2 separate regions of the Homo sapiens genome follow, and region 1 is linked to region 2. The links are contacts of gene promoters, found by promoter capture Hi-C in human tissues and cell types (Jung and others, 2019). All regions are on one chromosome and are shown on one strand. The core of a region is centred on a gene start or on the middle of the fragment in contact, and the rest is flanking DNA. Distances in the headings are between cores, read along the strand shown.

The links. The method cuts DNA at HindIII sites, captures the fragments that hold promoters and counts their contacts. A contact is called where the count stands out against the background at its distance.
Region 1: a fragment that was not itself captured here is called in contact with the fragment with the promoter of XYLT1 in region 2 in 1 of the 25 tissues and cell types used here (lymphoblastoid cells).

Annotation. Positions count from the first base shown.
Region 1 is chr16:16,841,659-16,847,988 of GRCh38, forward strand. No RefSeq gene overlaps it. Among named protein-coding and RNA genes, the nearest start is that of NPIPA7, 470 kb to the left of the region's middle. The HindIII fragment of the contact is 4,050 bases long and covers 2,199-6,248 here.
Region 2 is chr16:17,468,640-17,474,906 of GRCh38, forward strand. XYLT1 (xylosyltransferase 1) reads right to left here and starts at 2,321. Exons shown (of 12, transcript NM_022166.4): 1 at 1,795-2,321. The coding sequence starts at 2,157. LOC107987234 (a long non-coding RNA gene) reads right to left here and starts at 1,788. Exons shown (of 2, transcript XR_001752091.2): 1 at 1-1,788. LOC105371106 (a long non-coding RNA gene) reads right to left here. Exons shown (of 3, transcript XR_933144.3): 3 at 2,368-3,465. RefSeq lists enhancers at 1,101-1,370, 1,491-1,540, 2,315-2,816. The HindIII fragment of the contact is 9,248 bases long and covers 1-3,383 here.

The DNA.
Region 1 (6,330 bases), core at 2,974-5,473, 630 kb before region 2:
TTTATGGTTTTAGGTTTAACGTTTAAATCTTTAATCCATCTTGAATTGATTTTTGTATAAGGTGTAAGGAAGAGATCCAGTTTCAGCTTTCTACATATGGCTAGCCAGTTTTCCCAGCACCATTTATTAAATAGGGAATCCTTTCCCCATTGCTTGTTTTTCTCAGGTTTGTCAAAGATCAGATAGTTGTAGATATGTGGCATTATTTCTGAGGGCTCTGTTCTGTTCCATTGATCTATATCTCTGTTTTGGTACCAGTACCATGCTGTTTTGGTTACTGTAGCCTTGTAGTATAGTTTGAAGTCAGGTAGTGTGATGCCTCCAGCTTTGTTCTTTTGGCTTAGGATTGACTTGGCAATGCGGGCTCTTTTTTGGTTCCATATGAACTTTAAAGTAGTTTTTTCCAATTCTGTGAAGAAAGTCATTGGTAGCTTGATGGGGATGGCATTGAATCTGTAAATTACCTTGGGCAGTATGGCCATTTTCACGATATTGATTCTTCCTACCCATGAGCATGGAATGTTCTTCCATTTGTTTGTGTCCTCTTTTATTTCCTTGAGCAGTGGTTTGTAGTTCTCCTTGAAGAGGTCCTTCACATCCCTTGTAAGTTGGATTCCTAGGTATTTTATTCTCTTTGAAGCAATTGTGAATGGGAGTTCACCCATGATTTGGCTCTCTGTTTGTCTGTTGTTGGTGTATAAGAATGCTTGTGATTTTTGTACATTGATTTTGTATCCTGAGACTTTGCTGAAGTTGCTTATCAGCTTAAGGAGATTTTGGGCTGAGGTGATGGGGTTTTCTAGATAAACAATCATGTCGTCTGCAAACAGGGACAATTTGACTTCCTCTTTTCCTAATTGAATACCCTTTATTTCCTTCTCCTGCCTGATTGCCCTGGCCAGAACTTCCAACACTATGTTGAATAGGAGCGGTGAGAGAGGGCATCCCTGTCTTGTGCCAGTTTTCAAAGGGAATGCTTCCAGTTTTTGCCCATTCAGTATGATATTGGCTGTGGGTTTGTCATAGATAGCTCTTATTATTTTGAAATACGTCCCATCAATACCTAATTTATTGAGAGTTTTTAGCATGAAGGGTTGTTGAATTTTGTCAAAGGCTTTTTCTGCATCTATTGAGATAATCATGTGGTTTTTGTCTTTGGCTCTGTTTATATGCTGGATTACATTTATTGATTTGCGTATATTGAACCAGCCTTGCATCCCAGGGATGAAGCCCACTTGATCATGGTGGATAAGCTTTTTGATGTGCTGCTGGATTCGGTTTGCCAGTATTTTATTGAGGATTTTTGCATCAATGTTCATCAAGGATATTGGTCTAAAATTCTCTTTTTTGGTTGTGTCTCTGCCCGGCTTTGGTATCAGAATGATGCTGGCCTCATAAAATGAGTTAGGGAGGATTCCCTCTTTTTCTATTGATTGGAATAGTTTCAGAAGGAATGGTACCAGTTCCTCCTTGTACCTCTGGTAGAATTCGGCTGTGAATCCATCTGGTCCTGGACTCTTTTTGGTTGGTAAACTATTGATTATTGCCACAATTTCAGAGCCTGTTATTGGTCTATTCAGAGATTCAACTTCTTCCTGGTTTAGTCTTGGGAGAGTGTATGTGTCGAGGAATGTATCCATTTCTTCTAGATTTTCTAGTTTATTTGCGTAGAGGTGTTTGTAGTATTCTCTGATGGTAGTTTGTATTTCTGTGGGATCGGTGGTGATATCCCCTTTATCATTTTTTATTGTGTCTATTTGATTCTTCTCTCTTTTTTTCTTTATTAGTCTTGCTAGCGGTCTATCAATTTTGTTGATCCTTTCAAAAAACCAGCTCCTGGATTCATTGATTTTTTGAAGGGTTTTTTGTGTCTCTATTTCCTTCAGTTCTGCTCTGATTTTAGTTATTTCTTGCCTTCTGCTAGCTTTTGAATGTGTTTGCTCTTGCTTTTCTAGTTCTTTTAATTGTGATGTTAGGGTGTCAATTTTGGATCTTTCCTGCTTTCTCTTGTAGGCATTTAGTGCTATAAATTTCCCTCTACACACTGCTTTGAATGCGTCCCAGAGATTCTGGTATGTGGTGTCTTTGTTCTCGTTGGTTTCAAAGAACATCTTTATTTCTGCCTTCATTTCGTTATGTACCCAGTAGTCATTCAGGAGCAGGTTGTTCAGTTTCCATGTAGTTGAGCGGCTTTGAGTGAGATTCTTAATCCTGAGTTCTAGTTTGATTGCACTGTGGTCTGAGAGATAGTTTGTTATAATTTCTGTTCTTTTACATTTGCTGAGGAGAGCTTTACTTCCAACTATGTGGTCAATTTTGGAATAGGTGTGGTGTGGTGCTGAAAAAAATGTATATTCTGTTGATTTGGGGTGGAGAGTTCTGTAGATGTCTATTAGGTCTGCTTGGTGCAGAGCTGAGTTCAATTCCTGGGTATCCTTGTTGACTTTCTGTCTCGTTGATCTGTCTAATATTGACAGTGGGGTGTTAAAGTCTCCCATTATTAATGTGTGGGAGTCTAAGTCTCTTTGTAGGTCACTCAGGACTTGCTTTATGAATCTGGGTGCTCCTGTATTGGGTGCATAAATATTTAGGATAGTTAGCTCCTCTTGTTGAATTGATCCCTTTACCATTATGTAATGGCCTTCTTTGTCTCTTTTGATCTTTGTTGGTTTAAAGTCTGTTTTATCAGAGACTAGGATTGCAACCCCTGCCTTTTTTTGTTTTCCATTTGCTTGGTAGATCTTCCTCCATCCTTTTATTTTGAGCCTATGTGTGTCTCTGCACGTGAGATGGGTTTCCTGAATACAGCACACTGATGGGTCTTGACTCTTTATCCAACTTGCCAGTCTGTGTCTTTTAATTGCAGAATTTAGTCCATTTATATTTAAAGTTAATATTGTTATGTGTGAATTTGATCCTGTCATTATGATGTTAGCTGGTGATTTTGCTCATTAGTTGATGCAGTTTCTTCCTAGTCTCGATGGTCTTTACATTTTGGCATGATTTTGCAGCGGCTGGTACCGGTTGTTCCTTTCCATGTTTAGTGCTTCCTTCAGGAGCTCTTTTAGGGTAGGCCTGGTGGTGACAAAATCTCTCAGCATTTGCTTGTCTGTAAAGTATTTTCTTTCTCCTTCACTTATGAAGCTTAGTTTGGCTGGATATGAAATTCTGGGTTGAAAATTCTTTTCTTTAAGAATGTTGAATATTGGCCCCCACTCTCTTCTGGCTTGTAGGGTTTCTGCCGAGAGATCTGCTGTTAGTCTGATAGGCTTCCCTTTGAGGGTAACCCGACCTTTCTCTCTGGCTGCCCTTAACATTTTTTCCTTCATTTCAACTTTGGTGAATCTGACAATTATGTGTCTTGGAGTTGCTCTTCTCGAGGAGTATCTTTGTGGCGTTCTCTGTATTTCCTGAATCTGAATGTCGGCCTGCCTTGCTAGATTGGGGAAGTTCTCCTGGATAATATCCTGCAGAGTGTTTTCCAACTTGGTTCCATTCTCCACATCACTTTCAGGTACACCAATCAGACGTAGATTTGGTCTTTTCACATAGTCCCATATTTCTTGGAGGCTTTGCTCATTTCTTTTTATTCTTTTTTCTCTAAACTTCCCTTCTCGCTTCATTTCATTCATTTCATCTTCCATTGCTGATACCCTTTCTTCCAGTTGATCGCATCGGCTCCTGAGGCTTCTGCATTCTTCACGTAGTTCTCGAGCCTTGGTTTTCAGCTCCATCAGCTCCTTTAAGCACTTCTCTGTATTGGTTATTCTAGTTATACATTCTTCTAGATTTTTTTCAAAGTTTTCAACTTCTTTGCCTTTGGTTTGAATGTCCTCCCGTAGCTCAGAGTAATTTGATCGTCTGAAGCCTTCTTCTCTCAGCTCGTCAAAATCATTCTCCATCCAGCTTTGTTCTGTTGCTGGTGAGGAACTGCGTTCCTTTGGAGGAGGAGAGGCGCTCTGCGTTTTAGAGTTTCCAGTTTTTCTGTTCTGTTTTTTCCCCATCTTTGTGGTTTTATCTACTTTTGGTCTTTGATGATGGTGATGTACAGATGGGTTTTCGGTGTAGATGTCCTTTCTGGTTGTTAGTTTTCCTTCTAACAGACAGGACCCTCAGCTGCAGGTCTGTTGGAATACCCTGCCATGTGAGGTGTCAGTGTGCCCCTGCTGGGGGGTGCCTCCCAGTTAGGCTGCTCGGGGGTCAGGGGTCAGGGACCCACTTGAGGAGGCAGTCTGCCCGTTCTCAGATCTCCAGCTGCGTGCTGGGAGAACCACTGCTCTCTTCAAAGCTGTCAGACAGGGACACTTAAGTCTGCAGAGGTTACTGCTGCCTTTTTGTTTGTCTGTGCCCTGCCCCCAGAGGTGGAGCCTACAGAGGCAGGCAGGCCTCCTTGAGCTGTGGTGGGCTCCACCCAGTTCGAGCTTCCCGGCTGCTTTGTTTACCTAAGCAAGCCTGGGCAATGGCGGGCGCCCCTCCCCCAGCCTCGTTGCCGCCTTGCAGTTTGATCTCAGACTGCTGTGCTAGCAATCAGCGAGATTCCGTGGGCGTAGGACCCTCTGAGCCAGGTGTGGGATATAGTCTCGTGGTGCGCCGTTTCTTAAGCCGGTCTGAAAAGCGCAATATTCGGGTGGGAGTGACCCGATTTTCCAGGTGCATCCATCACCCCTTTCTTTGACTCGGAAAGGGAACTCCCTGACCCCTTGCGCTTCCCAGGTGAGGCAATGCCTCGCCCTGCTTCGGCTCGCGCACGGTGCGCACACACACTGGCCTGCGCCCACTGTCTGGCACTCCCTAGTGAGATGAACCCGGTACCTCAGATGGAAATGCAGAAATCACCCGTCTTCTGCGTCGCTCACGCTGGGAGCTGTAGACCGGAGCTGTTCCTATTCGGCCATCTTCAAGCTTAATTCTTTTCCACTGCTACATAATAGTCCACTGCACGGATAACTTAAAATCCGCTATAGGGATTATTTAAGTGTAGACCATTTTGATGTAAATTTAAGTTACTTTATTTCTTTTGCTTTTATATTAGCAATGCTTCAATATTAGCAATGCTGCAATGAATAGCACTGTGCATACGTCATTGTGATGGTTAATTTTATTTGTTAACTGGGCTAAGGGATGCCTAGATAGCTGGTCAAACATTGTTTTGCAGTATATCTGCTAAAACATTTCCAAAAGAGATTAGTGTTTGCATCAGCAGACTGAGTAAAGAAGATGGCCCTCAGCAATGTGGGTGGGCATGGCGTAATCCGCTGAAGGCCCAGATAGAAGAAAAAGGCGGAAAAAGGGTGAGTTCTCTGTCTTGTTGAGCTGCTACATTCATCTCCCACCCTTGGAGACTGGAGCTCCTGGTTCTCAGGGCTACAGGCTCTGGGACTTACACCAGTGGCCTCCCCAGTTCTTGGTCTTTGGACTTGGACTGAATGACATCACTGGCTTCCTGGGTTCTTCAGCTTGCAGATGGCAGATCATGGGACCTCTGGGCCACCACAATCATGTAAGCTAATTCCCATAATAAATCTTTGCCTATATATACTGTATTGATTCTCTTCCTCTGGAGAACCTTGAGCAATACAGTCATTTTGCTCCTATGCAGTTATACTGTAGAATAAATTTCTAGAAGGGAATTTGCTGGGTCAAAAGTTATGTGCTTTTATAATTCTGATAGCTATCGACAAATTTCTCATCACAGAGATCATACCAATTTGTTCCTCAATCAATAATGTATAAAAGAGCTTTGTCCTCCTACACAGGGTATGATCAAACTTTACAATTCTTGGCACTCTGATAAGGCAGAAATGGCCTCATTATGGTTTTAAGTGGCATTTCTCCTTTGTGAGTAAGCTAGCATCTTTTCTTATATAGAAGAGTCTTTCGTATTTCTTTCTCTCAGAAAAGTATCCTTATAGACTGTGAAAGGGCATAACTTAAAACATTTTTATTTATTTATTTTTAATTATTATACTTTAAGTTCTAGGGTATATGTGCACAATGTGCAGGTTTGTTACATAGGTAATACATGTGCCATGTTGGTTTGCTGCACCCATTAATTCGTCATTTACATTAGGTATTTCTCCTAATGCTATCCCTCCCCCATCCCCCCACCCCATGACAGGCCCCAGTGTGTGGTGTTCCCCGCCCTGTGTTCAAGTGTTCTCATTGTTCAATTCCCACCTATGAGTGAGAACATGCAGTGTTTGGTTTTCTGTCCTTGTGATAGTTTGCTCAGAATGATGGTTTCCAGCTTCATCCATGTCCCTACAAAGGACATGAACTCATCCTTTTTTATGGCTGCATAGTATTCCATGGTGTTTATATGCCACATTT
Region 2 (6,267 bases), core at 1,071-3,570:
ATGCTCACAATGCCGGGGACCTATGAAGAAATCAGCTAGCCCTGCCTCCTTCCTTCTCTTCATTTGTTTCAACAGGTGCTACATGCATCCTAAAGGTACCTCCTGAACCCACTCTGACCCCCAGATGCAAATGATACAGTAAGCCCCAGGCTTCCCCCACCATGTCTCCCCTACACGTTCTTACACTGGACCAGCAGGACACGACCCACAACCCTCCCACCCCACCTCCTGGGCTCTGGATGCACAAAGAACTTCTAATTGCATTTCTGCGGGAACCCATCACTATCAACTCCAAGAGTTCAAAGGCAGCGTTTCAGAGTACCCCTCTCTGTAAAGAAGAGATCGCAGGACACTAGGAATGTTCTGGTTCTCCGTCAGGCAGCTCACGCCACTATTCTCCCCGCAAATGAGGGAAAGACTTCTCCCTGCTACCCACACAGCAACGTGAAATGCCATCACATCACGTCTTGGGACTGGCTCAGTTCTCAGGCATGAAGAGCTGCACTCCGGCAGAAAGGGTCGCACAGACTCCGAAGAAGTTTAGCAGCTCAGAAAGCATCACGCTGTGTACTAAGGCAGTCTTCAGTGAGGACTTCCAAAGTGACAAATGATAGAAATATGCATTCAGTCTTCAGGATCCTGAAACCATCCCCCTGGTGTCTAATATCCTTTAACGGCTAGGCAAATCCTTGCAGACAAGTAGTGTGATGAAGAAACAGACAGACACACAACACATTGGCTATGCCCTAAGGCAGAACTCACGCCCCTGGAGAACTGAGACCTTGGCTCTGAAATGGGGACTCCGGCCTCCTGCCCCATGTGCTCCTGCTCCTAGCTCAGTAGGCTGGGCAAGGCAGCCCAGAGAAGGTGGGAAAGGTATCCCTGGAGAAGTTAGGGACAGGGTAGGAAGACAAGTCAGTTCCCCACCCAGCCACCCAGATGGCCCCAGATCTGCGGAAAAAACAGTTTCAGAGCCCTGACTGTTCACACCCACGAAGGGCAAAGTAATCCCATAGGAGTGGAAGCCCTGACGGTGTGGTCGGACACACAGCTGGTGACCTGAACCGGCCGCAACAAGACAGAAAGACAGAGACAACCAGCTAGGAGAAGGAGCCATGCCCTGAAACTGGAGATGGGGAGGAGATAAAGTCACAGAGGGCATGGGAGACGGCAAGGTTAGAGACAGAGAAGGTGAAGACGGAAGGCTCAAACATCCAGAGAAGAGAAACAGAAGACCCAAAGTAAGACCAGACACCCCGGACTGAGTATTGATTCAGGGGCATGGTCGGGGACTTGGGACGCCCAGCTCAGCCCTCATCGCAGGCCAGGACGAACAGAGGGCTCAACTGTCTGCACCCAGCTCGGCAAAAACCAGAGAGATGCTGCTGCGACAACCGCCCAGGAACAGCGGCTGAGGATCCGGGGAGATCCACTCACTCAGGCAGGGAGCGAGTCACCAAGACCTACACGCACGGAGCAAGTCACCTGGGGTCCCCAGCAAGAGTGATGGGGAACAGGAACCCAGCCAGGCTCCGGTAACCCCCAAAGCGCCCCCGCTGGAGAAAACTTCCCCCAGACCCCAAGGGGTCCGTGCTCAGACTCTGAAAGGGGCAGCCCACGACCCCTGAGCCTTGGCAGGGACCCCACCCGGCTTCCCGGGGCAAGAGGCGATGTGGAGTCGGTAGGCTTGCAGAGTCCCAGTCTGATGACCGAGTTCAAGGGCTAGGGGGGCGTGGGGTCGGGCTGCCTTCCTCCCTCCCTCGCCGCGGGGCGCGAGCCGAAAGGGCATCTTACCAGAGCCCGGGCGGGCAGTGCCCCCCGGCTGGCCGGCTGCTGTCCCCGCGGTTCTCCGGGGCCGCCTCCCCGCGCCCGCGCCTGGGGCCCCCGTCCTCCTCCTCCTCCGCCGCCGCCTCCTCCTCCTCCTCGGGCTGCAGCCGGCTCGGCGGGCAGGTCCCGGCGCTCCCGGCGCGGGGCCGGGGCCGGGGGCGGCTGCTCCCCGCCGCCGACCGCTGCGCCCCCGCGGCGCTCCCCGGCCCCGGAGTCGAGGCTGCTGAAATTCCACACGACCAGCGTCTGCAGCAGCAGCACCGTGAGCGCCGCGAGCAGCGCCGAGTGCGAGCGCCGGGCCAGCCTCCGGGCGCACGGCGCCGCCACCATCTTCGGAGCGCGGCCGGCGAGCGAGGCGCGGGGACCCCGGCACGCTCCGGGCCGCCCCCGCGCTCCCCGCAGCTCCCGCGGCCGCCGGCTGCCGCTCGGGCTCCCGCTCGGGCCGCCGCCGCCGCCCCCCTCCCCACACCCCTGTCCCCGCTGGAGGGGAGGGTGATGGGGAAGGCGCCGGGGGGACGCGGGCCGAGGCGGAGAGGGCGGGGCCTGGGGGAGGAGCCGAGGGAGGAAAAGGAGGAGGGAAAGGAAGGGGGTGGGGGCGATCAGAGAAGACAGACACCCCTCAGGACGTAGTGGGAGTAGGATGGGGGGCGAGGGGGACAATTCCCAAGGCGGAAAAAGAGAGGCAGGGGCCGCGAAACAGGGGACCTTTGGTTGAGGGTGGGCCCGCTCAGAATCCAGGGGAGGTCAGGAAGAGAGGGGGTCCCGAGGTCCTGTTTTCCCTGTGGGCCGCTGGAAGGAGGCAGTGCGTGGAGGAAGCTCCTAGCCCCGGAGTTCGCGGTCCAGGGATCTTCTGTCGGTACCAGACCGGTTGGCAGGTGGACACGTGAGAAACATTTCAGGAGTGTCAGAGCCACAGTCTGATCCCTTCATCCTGGGCTTGAAGGGGTGGGGAGGAGGCTTTGGGTGAGTTTCTGGAGTTAATCAGCACAAGCTCTGTGAGTGACTCCTGAATCACACACAATCCCCGGTGCCAACGATGTACTAAGTGTTCACTGAGTCACTTCTCTGGTCCCTGAGGACTCACAAGCCAAGAGACTCCAAACCCAGTTGGCAAGTGGTATAGCGGCAAAAGGGAGACCCGTGGAGTTACTCAACCTTCGCAGGATGCAAGCCCCAAAGGCTGGCCCCGCAGCCTCCCAGCGTGTCCTTTTCCCCATCCATCCTGAAGTCCCCCTTCCTGTCTGCACAGGGCCCAGGTCCTGGGGAAACAGGTCTTGCTCTTGAAAGTGGAGTTCTTTCCCATCCTGACTGGTCTGTCCCGGTGACCTTGAGCCAGGAGGAGGAGGACTCCTCCCTGAGCCCAAGCTTTCTCCTCTGTCGTTTAGGCAGAATGATCCCAATGGACTCAAATTTCATCCCGAGCCTTCTCTGACTCAGTCTTTCTGGTTTTTCCCTCCCTTGTCCTCTTGCCCAGGGCTTTATACACAGCAGCGCAGAACAGTGAGCATATGGGATGGCGTTGGTGTCCCATACGGGACCTAGCACTCTGGGAATACAACAGCAGATCAAATCAGTTTGTGAATTGAGGACTTGGCGTGAATGCTTCGCATCTTGTCTGCTGTGCTTTTTCACCTCATCCTAATTTACAAAGAGAAGAAAGTGGAGTGTAATGAAGGCTCATCAGACAATGAGGCAGGGAGTGGGAAGAGATTGTTTCATCCACTCCACAAGCATCCGTGAATACAAAGCTTGTGTCAGACACTGGGCCAGGTGCACGCATCCAAAGGTGAATGAGGTTTAATCTCATCTTCAGCAAGCCTGAGGTCTAGAGAAGCCTGATGTGGATGTTAATCATTAAAATATAGTGAGATAGGCCTGGGCGCGGTGGCTCATGCCTGTAATCGCAGCACTTTGGGAGGCCAAGACAGGAGGATCACCTGAGGTCAGAAGTTCGAGATCAGCCTTGCCAACATGGTGAAACCCCGTCTCTACTAAAAATACAAAAATTAGCCGGGCATGGTGGCACACACCCCTGATCCCAGCTACTCAGGAGGCTGAGGCAGGAGAATCTCTTGAACCCAGGAGGCAGAGGCTGCAGTGAGCCGAGATCACACCACTGCACTCCAGCCTGGGTTACAGAGCAAGACTCCATCTAAAAAACGTATATATAAATATATATATATTGTATATATATATATTATATATAATGTATATAATAAATATATTATATATAATATATTTATATATATGTACATATAATATATATAATATATAATATATAACATATATATAATATATATATTTATATGTAAATATATATAATATTATATATATATATATGGTGAGATAAGCATTGCTGTAGAGATGTGCAAAAATGCTAAGGGTTCATGAGGGCAGGACGGGAGTAAGCGCCAAGAAAAAATGCTTTCTGAACCCATGTAATTAGCCAGTCCACTTGCCTGAACAAGAAAAGTATAAAATGTATGCTAGTGGGGGTTGTAAACTCCAAACCAATCAACCTTAGTTGTATCTAAAGCTTAGCCAGGCATGTAGCCTGGCATAGAGGCCTTCCCTTTGGGCCCAGCACCCCTAACCAGGAGTAAAAGACCAGAGGCAAGTTTCTAGGGCCACCAGTCATCTGTTTATCAGTTGGGGATATTTTGTTTACAAGCAATAACATCTATTACTAACAGTAATAAGACTTAAGTCTATCTTTTAAGTCTTTTTTTTTTTTTTTTTTTTGACACAGTCTCACTCCATCACCCAGCCTGGAGTGCAGTGGTGTGATCTCAGCTCACTCCAACCTCTGCCTCTTGGGTTCAAGTAATTCTCATGCCTCAGCCTCCCGAGTAGCTGGGATTACAGGCATGTGCCACCACGCCCAGCTAATTTTTTTTTTAGTACAGACGAGGTTTCACCATGTTGGCCAGGCTGATCTCAAACTCCTGACCTCAGGTGATCTGCCTGCCTCAGCCTCCCAAAGTGCTGGGATTACAGGCATCAGCCACTGTGCCCAGCCCGGTCTGTCTTAAAAATATACTTTACTGGATCATGTAGCTGAACATTGCAGAGGAAAGGCTTCAGGTGAGGTTTGATCTAGCAACTCACAATTATCACCTGGGATTCCTTTTCTTTCCATCTCTCCTCTCTGCTTTCCATGGAGTCTACCTTATTCCCTCTTGATGTCACACGATGCCTGGCCTCAGCTGCTGCGACTACTTTGTATCCTGTGTTCATTTCTAGCCCAGGGAAAGGAGGGTCAGTATTTCCCAGGATTTTCCTCAAAGGTTCGGAGATTTTTTTTCTGATTAGACCAGTCTTAAGTTCTGGGTCACTCCGAGACCAATCAGTGTGGCCAGGAAGTTAGAAAATGCCGATCAACTTGGCCAAGATCCCATATTTCACCTCCGCCATTGGGGTGAAGCCAGCCTCCCTGTAACAACTTGGATGCCCTATAGAGATCAGGGTCTGATGGGAAAGAAGTAGGTGCAGGGAACAGATTCCATCATTTATTCCACGCAGCCTCCCGAGGTTATATGACCTTGGCCAAGCCACCTCCCCTCCCAGGACTTAGATTTCTTTAGTGCCAAATGAGGGGTTGGAGGAGACAGCCCCCAAGATTTCACATGTTGCCAGAACGCTCTCTTAGTGTCTCAGCAGAGCTTCTCAACCCAGCAGAGGCTGCTCTGGAGCCTCTTGGCAACCCTGCCCTCTGGCTCATCTTTGCTTCAAGGTCTCTGGCCGCATTTTTCCCGTTAGCAGCAATGATGTTATCTGCTTCCTCCACATCTCACATTTAACCACAGTCCTTTGGGGCCCACCCTCTGGCTCCACTCCCTCAGGGGCCAGGGGCTTAAGGAGTGAGGTTAAGGATCTGGGCTCCAAGTCCCTGGAGAGAGAGTTGTTTGTTTATCTCAGACTTATAAAAAGCCATGCAAGAAAGAGGTTTAAAGGCTCCAGGCGGGTTATGGACGCCATAAACAGCTTATGTGATGGTTTTAGGATGAAAAATCACCCGAGATCGAAGAATAGGAAGGCAAGCTTCTGGGGTCACTGGAGCTGTCTTCCTGCACCTCAAGAATCTTTGGGTAAGGAGGTGAGACAAAGATGAGATCAGAACAGCGGGTGGCTTGGAGTGGGAGAAGGGCGTGAATTTTGACGAATCTGCAGTGCACATGTATCTCAGTACCAGGGGGCGCAGTTGGTTTGGGCAGTGCCAGAACCCCTGGGAGCAGGGGCCGGGCATCATGTCTTCTAAGCCAAACCAAGCAAAAGCAGCCACTTTGCATTCGAAGGGGCCCCGGCTTTGGCTTCCACTGTGGTGTAAAAGCGAGACAGGCAGAGCTTGATGTATAAGACAGAGCCGAAAGCACCGCCTGAGACTCCAGCGGCAGCCCTAGCAACAGCAGTGAGAGTCCTTAGAATTTTTAAAGCTCATTC